3 separate regions of the Homo sapiens genome follow, and regions 1 and 3 are each linked to region 2. Evidence: promoter capture Hi-C in human tissues and cell types (Jung and others, 2019). All regions are on one chromosome and are shown on one strand. Each heading gives the region's core, a stretch centred on a gene start or on the middle of the fragment in contact. The rest is flanking DNA. Distances are from core to core; before and after follow the strand shown. Region 1 holds the start of OR13J1 (olfactory receptor family 13 subfamily J member 1). Region 2 holds the start of PIGO (phosphatidylinositol glycan anchor biosynthesis class O). Region 3 holds the start of FAM221B (family with sequence similarity 221 member B).

The links. The method cuts DNA at HindIII sites, captures the fragments that hold promoters and counts their contacts. A contact is called where the count stands out against the background at its distance.
Region 1: the fragment with the promoter of OR13J1 here is called in contact with the fragment with the promoter of PIGO in region 2 in 2 of the 25 tissues and cell types used here (small bowel and spleen).
Region 3: the fragment with the promoter of FAM221B here is called in contact with the fragment with the promoter of PIGO in region 2 in 1 of the 25 tissues and cell types used here (spleen).

The regions. Positions count from the first base shown.
Region 1 is chr9:35,868,518-35,872,007 of GRCh38, reverse strand. OR13J1 (olfactory receptor family 13 subfamily J member 1) reads left to right here and starts at 1,607. Exons shown (of 1, transcript NM_001004487.1): 1 at 1,607-2,545. The coding sequence starts at 1,607. The coding sequence ends at 2,545. The HindIII fragment of the contact is 8,885 bases long and covers 1-3,466 here.
Region 2 is chr9:35,095,341-35,098,740 of GRCh38, reverse strand. It overlaps PIGO (phosphatidylinositol glycan anchor biosynthesis class O), which reads left to right and starts at 2,150. Exons shown (of 11, transcript NM_032634.4): 1 at 2,150-2,586; 2 at 3,175-3,400. The coding sequence starts at 3,176. It overlaps PIGO-AS1 (PIGO antisense RNA 1), which reads right to left and starts at 2,437. Exons shown (of 2, transcript NR_186491.1): 1 at 2,321-2,437; 2 at 597-981. RefSeq lists an enhancer at 2,144-2,483. The HindIII fragment of the contact is 8,015 bases long and covers 425-3,400 here.
Region 3 is chr9:35,827,074-35,830,731 of GRCh38, reverse strand. It overlaps FAM221B (family with sequence similarity 221 member B), which reads left to right and starts at 2,000. Exons shown (of 7, transcript NM_001012446.4): 1 at 2,000-2,269. It overlaps TMEM8B (transmembrane protein 8B), which reads right to left and starts at 1,504. Exons shown (of 13, transcript NM_001042590.4): 1 at 777-1,504. The coding sequence starts at 1,284. RefSeq lists an enhancer at 412-912 and a silencer at 1,198-1,647. The HindIII fragment of the contact is 23,285 bases long and covers 1-3,658 here.

The DNA.
Region 1 (3,490 bases), core at 358-2,857, 770 kb before region 2:
GTGGGTGAGGCTGGGTACGGAAGAGTGGGGGGACGGTGAGGCTGGGTATGGAAGACTTGGGGGTCCTCTCTGCCTAGGAAGGGTTTGCACTCAGCAGCCTGGGAGCACACCTGTCATCAGTGCTCCCTCACATCTGGCACCACCTGACATGTAGCAGGTCCTCAGTTACTTCTAGGTTCTGGGATGAGTAAGTGAGGGTGGAATAAAAGACGGAAATGGTCTCCTGCAAGGAAGGCACTGAGAGGAACTGTGCTCCACCCAGGCCCAGGATTTGGCATCGTGTCCCATGGGATTAATGACACCGTGCCAGATACCCTGGAACACTAAGGAGAGGTGACTCATGCTCTTTTGCTGGTGAGAGGATTGTGGCAGCACCTGGGGCACTGATATCCATCTAGAATGGTAAAAGAACAAGCATTGTTTGAAACCTAATAGAAGCATACACCTGCTCTGAGCATGGTATAGGGGTCACACTGTTGGGAGGGCTGGATTCTAGCTTCACCTCACCAGAGACCTGTTGTGTGACCTCAGCATCCCCATCTATACAATGGGAGATCCAACAAGTTGGCCTCTGGTCATGTTCCATGCTAATACCCTAGGAGTTCATGAAGTCAAAGCAGCCCTCGCTCTGGCCCACAGAACATAGGGGTTTGGAGCTGGGCCAAAAGCTCCATCAGATTTTAGCTGGGAAACCCACAGGAAGGCAGATTGTGAAGGTCCAATCCACACAGGGTAGCTAATGAAACAGGCCCTGGGCAGGGGACAGGGGAACATGCCCAGCGATAGGCTTCAAGGTCAGCAGCCCTCCAACACACAGCACGGTGTATGCTTTGTTCATGGATACTAGAGTAGGCCTGAAGAGACAGGTCAGACCACTGCAGGCCGAGGACATTCCAGACAGAAGGAATAGCAAATGCGATGGCTCAGAGGCTTCCTTAAAGCCAGGAGAATCTCCACCTGCTCAGAGACCACCTAGCCCACTAGTTCCTCAAAGTGTGGTACCTACATCAGCAGCAGAAGCATCGCCCAGACGCACCGAGTCAGAAACTGGGTTTGGGGCCCAACAATCTGTTTTAACAAACTTTCCAGGTGATTCTGGTGCATGTTAAAGTTTGAGAACTGTTGATCTAGCCTACTGTTTCCCAGACTATGCTCATAGAACACTTATCTGCAGTAGGTTAATGGGTTTTCTGTAAAAGGGGATCCATGATCAAATAAGTTTGGGGTACAGATGTTCTACATTGCTTTGCAGGAGTCATAGATCACATTAGCGTAGTAAACGCTCTGAGAAGTCCTGCAGTAAAGAGCTTTATTTTTTATTAATCCAATGTTGTCTCAAATTGATTTTTCAGATTGCTTACTAATGTTCTCATTAACATTCTCTCAGGGAATGCTGATCTAAATCAATGCTCATTTTTCACATGGATAAACTGAGGCCTAGAGAGGATAAAGGGATTGCCCGACGTCACAGACAGTGAGTGTGGCAGTGCTGGAAAAGATCCTGACAGTCCACCTCGTCCCAGAAAGGGCTCTGTGAGCTTCCCCGCACCCTGTACCCTCTCTCCTTCCATCCCAGCTGTGGACCATCTCTTCAGAACTCTGCAGCATGGAGCCGCTCAACAGAACAGAGGTGTCCGAGTTCTTTCTGAAAGGATTTTCTGGCTACCCAGCCCTGGAGCATCTGCTCTTCCCTCTGTGCTCAGCCATGTACCTGGTGACCCTCCTGGGGAACACAGCCATCATGGCGGTGAGCGTGCTAGATATCCACCTGCACACGCCCGTGTACTTCTTCCTGGGCAACCTCTCTACCCTGGACATCTGCTACACGCCCACCTTTGTGCCTCTGATGCTGGTCCACCTCCTGTCATCCCGGAAGACCATCTCCTTTGCTGTCTGTGCCATCCAGATGTGTCTGAGCCTGTCCACGGGCTCCACGGAGTGCCTGCTACTGGCCATCACGGCCTATGACCGCTACCTGGCCATCTGCCAGCCACTCAGGTACCACGTGCTCATGAGCCACCGGCTCTGCGTGCTGCTGATGGGAGCTGCCTGGGTCCTCTGCCTCCTCAAGTCGGTGACTGAGATGGTCATCTCCATGAGGCTGCCCTTCTGTGGCCACCACGTGGTCAGTCACTTCACCTGCAAGATCCTGGCAGTGCTGAAGCTGGCATGCGGCAACACGTCGGTCAGCGAAGACTTCCTGCTGGCGGGCTCCATCCTGCTGCTGCCTGTACCCCTGGCATTCATCTGCCTGTCCTACTTGCTCATCCTGGCCACCATCCTGAGGGTGCCCTCGGCCGCCAGGTGCTGCAAAGCCTTCTCCACCTGCTTGGCACACCTGGCTGTAGTGCTGCTTTTCTACGGCACCATCATCTTCATGTACTTGAAGCCCAAGAGTAAGGAAGCCCACATCTCTGATGAGGTCTTCACAGTCCTCTATGCCATGGTCACGACCATGCTGAACCCCACCATCTACAGCCTGAGGAACAAGGAGGTGAAGGAGGCCGCCAGGAAGGTGTGGGGCAGGAGTCGGGCCTCCAGGTGAGGGAGGGCGGGGCTCTGTACAGACGCAGGTCTCAGGTTAGTAGCTGAGGCCATCGTATGCCAATGCCAGTGAAGACATGGCAGGGCTGGGGCTACAGGTCTGGTATCTTCATCCCAGCAAGGCAGCACCAAGTCCCGCTGATCCTGCCACAGAACAGCCCCCAAATCACCCTCTGCTCTCAGCATCACCCTGGCCTTCACACCAGCCTCCTGGCTGGTCCCAAGACTTCAGTCCTGTTCCTCCCTCCAATCTCTCCTTCATGGGGCATCTTTTTGAAATGCACATGTGATTGCATCACTCTTCTCACTGAAATCCCTAGGTGGCTCCCCACTGTTCTCAGAACAAAGTGGAAGCTTTTCAGTGGGGCATTTGAGGCCCTCACAAGCTGGCCCTGCCTGACTGGCTCCCCAGCCTTCCTCCCCTCCCACCCCATCTCCCTCCTCACAGCCACACACACCAGCCAGTTGTGGCCCCCACATGCCCTGCACCACCCAGCTCTGTGCTCTCCTTGTTTCTCCCCACGAGGCAGCACCCCCTCCCCTATCCCCAGCACACTTCTCCATATGTAAAAGGACTGACTGCCTGACCCTTCAGGCCCAGCTCAAATGCCACCTCCACCAGGAAGCCACCCCACCTTGCTCCTCTTGCTGTGCCCCTCTGTGTTTTCAGCATTACTCCAAGAGCAGGGAGTGTCAGATTCTACTCTCTCCCAAGGTCCAGCCTTGCCCAACTCTAGGCCCTGCACAAGTTTCTTAAATAGAGATATTAACATGTCAATGTAGGGGTGACAATGGCAGAGCCTAGAGTTCTTCCCAAAACTGAGCAGAGCTGAGACGGAGTCCACAGATGACGAGAATGGCCCAGCTTCCCTGGTAGGTGACAGTAGAGGCAGCAATGAGGCCTGTATTAGTCAGGGTTCTCTTAGAGGGACAGAACTAATAGGAT
Region 2 (3,400 bases), core at 901-3,400:
TCGGCTCACTGCAACCTCCGCCTCCCGGGTTCAAGCAATTCTCCTGCCTCAGCCTCCTTAGTAGCTGGGATTACAGGCATGCGCCACCATACCTGGCTAATTTTTTTGTTTTTTGTAGAGACAGGGTTTCACCATGTTGGTCAGGCTGATCTCGAACTCCAGACCTCGTGATCTGCCCGCCTGAGCCTCCCAAAGTGCTGGGATTACAGGCGTGAGCCACTGTGCCCGGCCTATGAAGGGTTTTTTTCCCTTCCCATGAAGAATTTTAAGATAAAACATCACATTGGCCAGGCACAGTGACTCATACCTGTGATCCCAGCACTTTGGGAGGCTGAGGTGGGAGGATCACTTGAGCCCAGGAGTTGACCAGCCTGGGCAACATGGTAAGACCCTATCTCTACAAAAAAGAAAAAAATAACAGTAATCACATTAATGTTTTAGTTAGAGCTGTCTTGCTGCAATGTGGAGAAGGGATAGTAGGGAGACACAGGAGGCTGGGAGGACAGTGAGAAGGCTGCCTCAGTGATCCTGGAGAAGGGATGAGGTCTGAACTGAGATAAGGGGCTATGGGGATGAAGGTGGAAGAATAACTCAACTTTTTTTAAAAATTAACATATTCCTTTATTCGTTTGGTCAGTATGTGAACCTCAAATATATGCTAGGTGCTGAGGATATCATGAAGAAAACAGAATTCCCTGACCTCAATGAGCTCACATTCTACTCGGAGGGGATAAACCATAAATACGTGTAGAATTTCAGATGCTGATGAGTTGTGCTATGGAAGAAATTAAGGAAGTGAGGGGAAATTTTTCCAGGGGGTGTGGTGGTGGGAGGTGCTGAACTAGTAAAGTAGGGGATTGCAGGAAGCCTTGCTGATGTTACAGTTGAGCTTCAATATGAAGGTGATGGAGATCCATTTCGGCATCGGGAACTGAAGCTGACAGAGGAGATGGCAAATGCAAAGGTCCTGAGGCAGAACTGCTGTGGATGGAACAGAGTTAGGGAAGCAAAGAAGTGGCAGCTAGATGAATCAGAAGGGGAAGAGGCAGATAGTGTGCAGGGCCATGTAGAGCCAATGCAAGAACTTTTACTCTGAGATGAGAAACCAGTGGACGGGTTTTGTTTCTTTTTGAGACAGAGTCTTGCTCTGTTGCCTAGGCTGGAGTGCAGTAGCACGATCTCAGCTCACTGTAGCCTCTGCCTCCTGGCTTCAAGCAATTGTCCAGTCTCAGCCTCCTCAGTAGCTGGGACTACAGGTACACATCGCCACGCCTGGCTAAATTTTGTAATTTTTAGTAGAGTTGGGGTTTCAGCATGTTGGCCAGGCTGGTCTCCAATTCCTGACTTCAACTGATTCTCCAGCCTCAGCCTCCCAAAGTGCTGGGCTTACAGGTGTGAGTCATCGTGCCTGGCATTTTTTTTTTTTTTTTTGAGAGGGAGTCTTGCTCTGTTGCCCAGGCTGGAGTGCAGTGGTGCAATCTCGGCTCACTGCAACCTCTGCCTCCTGGGTTCGAGTGATTCTCCTGCCTCAGCCTCCCAGGTATCTGGGATCACAGGCGCCCGCCACCACTCCCGGGTAACTTTTGTATTTTCAGTAGAGACGGCGTTTCGTCATATTGGCCGGGCTGGTCTTGAACTCCTGACCTTAGGTGATCCACCTGCCTTGACCTCCCAAAGTGCTGGGATTACAGGTGTGAACCACTGGGCCCAGCCTCCCCTCCTCCACTCCGAAGGATTATTTGCTTAATTATTCAGTCGTAAGATTTAGTTACAGGCTTTGAAAGGAGGAGTAATGAAATCTCAGTTGGACTCAGCTAAGCAAAAAAGGGAAAATAAGTATTATCTCCATTTTACAGATGAGGTAATGCCTAATGATGACAATATGTGCGGCCAAGCTAGGATTCAAGTCAAGTTTGACTCCAGCAGCCGTGCTCTTAGTCGTAACCATGAATGGACAGTGGTTCCCTGAACTCTTCCTCCAGCTTGGTCCCCTGTCCCCAATTTTCAATTACTAAATATCCCATCAAACTGGGGCCAGCCCCACGCTCCTGGCCAAACTTCCACCGAGGTGCCGGCAGATGGCGATGGAGCCACCGACGGGCCACTCTGTCTGGCGCACGCATCTCTGTGCTGCCAGGTCGCAGGCGCCGCCGCCGCCGCACTTCCGGGTGCCATTGCAGGTGAGCCAGGGTCTCCCGAGAACCTCACCCCCCGGTATTCCCCTCACCCTGAAGTAAGGGAGTCTCCCTCTTCCCCTCAGCTCCTAACCAAGGTGCTCAGTACCGCGGCTAGGGTGCCCAGCGGGAGGCTGGGTAGTTACCGGAGGAGGCAGAGCCGGTCGCACGCCTGGGTCCCAGCGGAGGCCCAGTCGACTCTCGACCCGGGCCCCAGCCTCCTTGCGTGGCGAAGGTCGTGCCTCAGGTCTCCTGGCGAACCTGGCCGCCCGGAAGCGGAGAGTGACTCCTCCCCTTCGTCCCCTCGGTGCCCGCCAGGCGGCGCCGTCGGCTGGGCCCGGATTCCCCTGCGGCTTCGATCCCTTTCCACTGGGTATTGAGATTGGCGAGGGGAGAGGCGCAGAAACGGCGTGTAAGAGAGCCTGACTACCAATTGGAATAAGTTTCCCTCCTGACTGTTCACATGTACAGGCAGCATTAGCATTTCCTGCCTGTACATGTGAACGTTCCTATGCTCTACCCCTCGAAGATCCTGATTCAGTAGATCTGGGGTGGGACCTCATGAAACGGCGTCTCCCTCTGTTGTCCAGACTCTAGTGCAGTGGTTCAATCTCGGCTCACTGCAACCTCCGCCTCCCCGATTCAAGCGATTCTCCTGCGTCAGCCTCCCCAGTAGCTGAGACTACAGGTGCCCGCCACCCATTTTTGTATTTTTAGTAGGGACGGGGTTTCGCCATTTTGGCCAGGCTGGTCTCGAACTCCTCACCTCAGGTGATCCGCCCGCCTCGGCCTCCCAAAGTGCTGGGATTACAGGCGTGAGCCACCATGCCCAGCCTGGAAATAGGAGGAGAGTAATATTGCGAGGGGTTGGCTGTGAAATGGTTTATCTCCAGGAAGGTTTCCGGGAGGAAGTGATTCTAGCTGGGCTTGTATTCAGGGACCAGAATATCCACTGGTTCTTTGCCCCACAGTAATGAATTTACTTCCCCACCCCTATCAGGATGCAGAAAGCCTCAGTGTTGCTCTTCCTGGCCTGGGTCTGCTTCCTCTTCTACGCTGGCATTGCCCTCTTCACCAGTGGCTTCCTGCTCACCCGTTTGGAGCTCACCAACCATAGCAGCTGCCAAGAGCCCCCAGGCCCTGGGTCCCTGCCATGGGGGAGCCAAGGGAAACCTGGGGCCTGCTGGATGGCTTCCCGATTTTCGCGGGTTGTGTTGGTGCTGATA
Region 3 (3,658 bases), core at 751-3,250, 730 kb before region 2:
GGAGGTTATGCTTTGAGCCTTTCCCCACTTGGGTCTATTTTTCTATTAAGTATACATTGCAGTGGATAAAAAAAAACACACTAGTATGAAATAGGAATTAGGAAACCTTTTTTCTAGCCCCAGCACACTGCCATTCACAAGCTCTCTGACTTTGGACAAATTGCTCCCTCCCTGAGCCTCAGTTTCCCCATCTGTAAAATAGCCTCCGAGTTTCAGCCCTGCTCTAAAAGTATCAGGAATTATTCCTAGGCAAATCAATCTTCTTTGGAACAAGAATCATTACAAGAAGAAAACTCATTATAATGGCAACTAATCCATATTCATCTATTTGCTACATATTATCTTTAAAACTCTTCTTCATGCCGTTTGAATGCATGCCCAATATCTCAAAGGTTTGGGCTATATATTCCCACACTACACTAGGGGCTTCTGGTGTGGGACTGTCTCTCCCCCATCAAACTTTGTGAGCAGGAGCAAAGCCCACAACATTTCCCTGGAAAAGCAAGAGTCAAAGTGGGGTCAGGACAGACACCAGAAAAAATCTTGGAGTCTCTGTGCTAGAAACTGTAAGCCACCTGCTGAGCCTCAAACCCAATTAATTACCACTCTTTTGACCCTGCCAATCCCTGTTGTGTAAGACCTCTCTACTCTCTATTTCTCCCACTTGCTCCCCAATGATCTAGTTCCCCAGGTCCCACCTCTCCTGAATCTCTCCAGCCCACCCCTCCCTGCCGGAACCCCATTCCTGCCTCAATCTTCCCTGCTTCTGCACTCACCAGCCCCTGGGCCAAGGACAGAGAACAGCAACAGCAGCAATAGGGCTGGCGGCAGCTGAAACCCAGACTTGAGTCTAGGCTGGGAGAGGGGCAGAGTATGAGAGATAGGGGGGACTAGAGGGAGAGACTTGGGTAAACACAGAGATGAGGGCAAAGGCTGAGATAATGGGTTGGGCTGGGCTGGACACTGGGGCTTGAACAAGGGCAGGGAGTGGGATGGAAGGAAGGGCTGTGATGGGGACTGCAGCAAGGGACGGGGTTGAGCCAGGGCCTTAAGCAAACACTGGGAATGGGGCTGGGACAGGGCCTGGGCTGGGATTTGTGACAGGGGGTGGAACGAGGGCCGAGGCCGGGATGGGGGCCAGGCCAGGGGCAGAGACTGGAAGGGGGTCCTGGATGGGGACCCAGGCAGGGGCTGGGGCCGATGTGGGAAGCGGGGCGAGGGCGGGGCTGGGGGCCAAGGCGGGGATTGGGATAGGACGAGGGGCCGGGACAAGGGCTGGGCCATGGCCCGGGGCGGGGGCGGGGCCGGACAGGCCAGCGCGGGGCGCTCGCAGAGCTGGCCCGCGGCTCCGCTCCCCACCCCCGGGGGGTGGCCTCCGGTGTCCTCGCGGGCCCGGGGCGGGGGCCGGGGACCTGGGTAGGAGTTCAGGCCTGGGCGACTCCGGGCTGCGCTGAACCGGCGATAACCAGGCCCCGCGGCGGCGGCCTCGACTTGACGTCGGCGTGACGCCCCGCCCCCCGGCCGGCTCGATTGGTCCCTGTCAGTAAAGCCCGCCCCCGCCCTACTCTATTGGTCCCCAACTTAGTCCTGCTGGGCTTCGAGGACACACAGACTCCGCCCCCGCCTCAGCTACCCGAGACCCTGCCTTTCTCACCCCAAGCACAGAGCCCGAGGTCCCCTCAGATCCTCACAGCCCCCAACGACCGCCCCACAGATGTCTCAAAGGAACCCTATCCTCACAATCCCAGACTCCCCCGGACGTACGCACAGATCTCCGCAGATCCTACCCAAACACTCGCTCACAGAGATCCCGCAACACACACCCCACTTTTCAGAAGTAAACCCTCTGGGCTCGCCCCCTCGAGGCCCAATGCAAGCCCCTCAGGAGACCTTACCCACCGGGGAGGTGACCAGACCGCCGTTGCCACGGAGACTACTAGGCGTTCCGGTTGCCCTGGTGACCGGCGCCTACTCTCCTGGCCCGGGTTCCGGAGGCTTCAGTCAAGACCCTCCCTCATTGGCCCTAGACCCCTTGTCCCTACCCACTTCCCCAGGTCATGCCAGAGCTCCTTTGCGAAGTTCTGCAGATATCCAAGTCCCCTTCCCAGATAGCAGACTTTCAGGCAAGGCATTTCAACACTCAGCACCTGCAGCTGAGGCACATCCACAACCAAGAGCCTTTCCTCCCTGAGGATCAACACCTCCCCCTGCCATCCTAAGTCAAGGTCTTGACCTAAGGACTTGTAACAACCAAGCCAAAGCCCAGAGGGTAGGTGGTTTCTCCAACGGCCCTTGCCCTCTTCCCTCAAAGACATCTGTCTTTCTCCCACCCCTCAGTCCCTTCACATTGTTGTAGTAGTAGTAGTAGTAGTAGTAGTAGTAGTAGTAGTAGTAGTAGTTGTTGTTGTTGTTGTTGTTGTTGTTGTTGTTGTTGTTGTTTGAGACAGAGTCTCGCTCTGTCCCCCAGGCTGGAGTGCAGTGGTGCGATCTGGGCTCACTGCAACCTCCGCCTCCCAGGTTCAAGTGATTTGCTTGCTTCAGCCTCCCCAGTAGCTGGGACTACAGGCGCCTGCCACCATGCCCAGCTAATTTTTGTATTTTTAGTAGAGACTGGGTTTCACCATGTTGGCCAGGCTGGTCTCGAACTCCTGACCTCAAGTGATCCACCCGCCTTGGCCTCCCAAATTCTGGGATTACTGGCATGAGCCACCATGCCTGGCCCACATTCTGTACTTTTCATCCTTACTCTCCTCCTCCACCCAATTTCCTCCTCCCCTTCTCTTTCCCCTTCCTCACCTCCCATCTTCTGGTTCTCCACTCTTAGGCCCCTTTTCTCTCTAGCTGACTCTGGTCATCTTCCTCCCTGTAATCCTACCTCTGCCCCTAATTCCCTTCCCAAACATCCCCTTCAAAAAGGCTCTGATGCATTTAAGGAGTGATATATCTAGCGTCTCTGGAACATGGGGGTAAAGTAGGGAGCACGGAAAGTTAAGGCAGGAATCCTCAGGCTGTGTTGAAAATGATGACAGGCCTTGAATGCCAGGGCCAAGAAATTTGGACTTAATCCTTTAGACTGAGTCATGGAATGTTTTTAAGCCACAAAGTGCCAGTTGTTGGGCTTGCACTTTAGAAAGATCCTGATTGGGTCAGGAAGGAGGACTACATCCTTGCAGGATAAATTAGGTATATCCCCCTCCCCACCGTATCCTAGACTCACCCCAGAACAACATCAATTTATTTGTATTGCCATTGTTGGTTAATCGGTCTCTCTCCTAGACTCAACTCAATCTAGAGCTTAGCACAGCGGGTCAGTAAAAGCATCAGATTAGGCTCATTGTAAAAGTATAAGTTACATAAATCCATGAAAGAATGGGTGAATGGATTAAAATGCTGTGGATGGAAGTAGAGGGGCAAAGTTATTACACAAAGGCTGAAGATGATGAGAACTTGAATAAAATTGGAAGGGAGAGGAGAGAATGCATTTGGGGAATATTTAGAAGATAGGAAATAGAGTTATTGGTGCCTATTTGAAGATGGAGTCTAAGGGAAAAGGAAAAGACTAGGATAATTCCCAAAGTTCAGTTTTGCTGTCTGTGGAAACACTCAGTTAGAAATGACCAGCAGGGGCCAAGCACGGTGGCTCACTCCTGTAATCTCA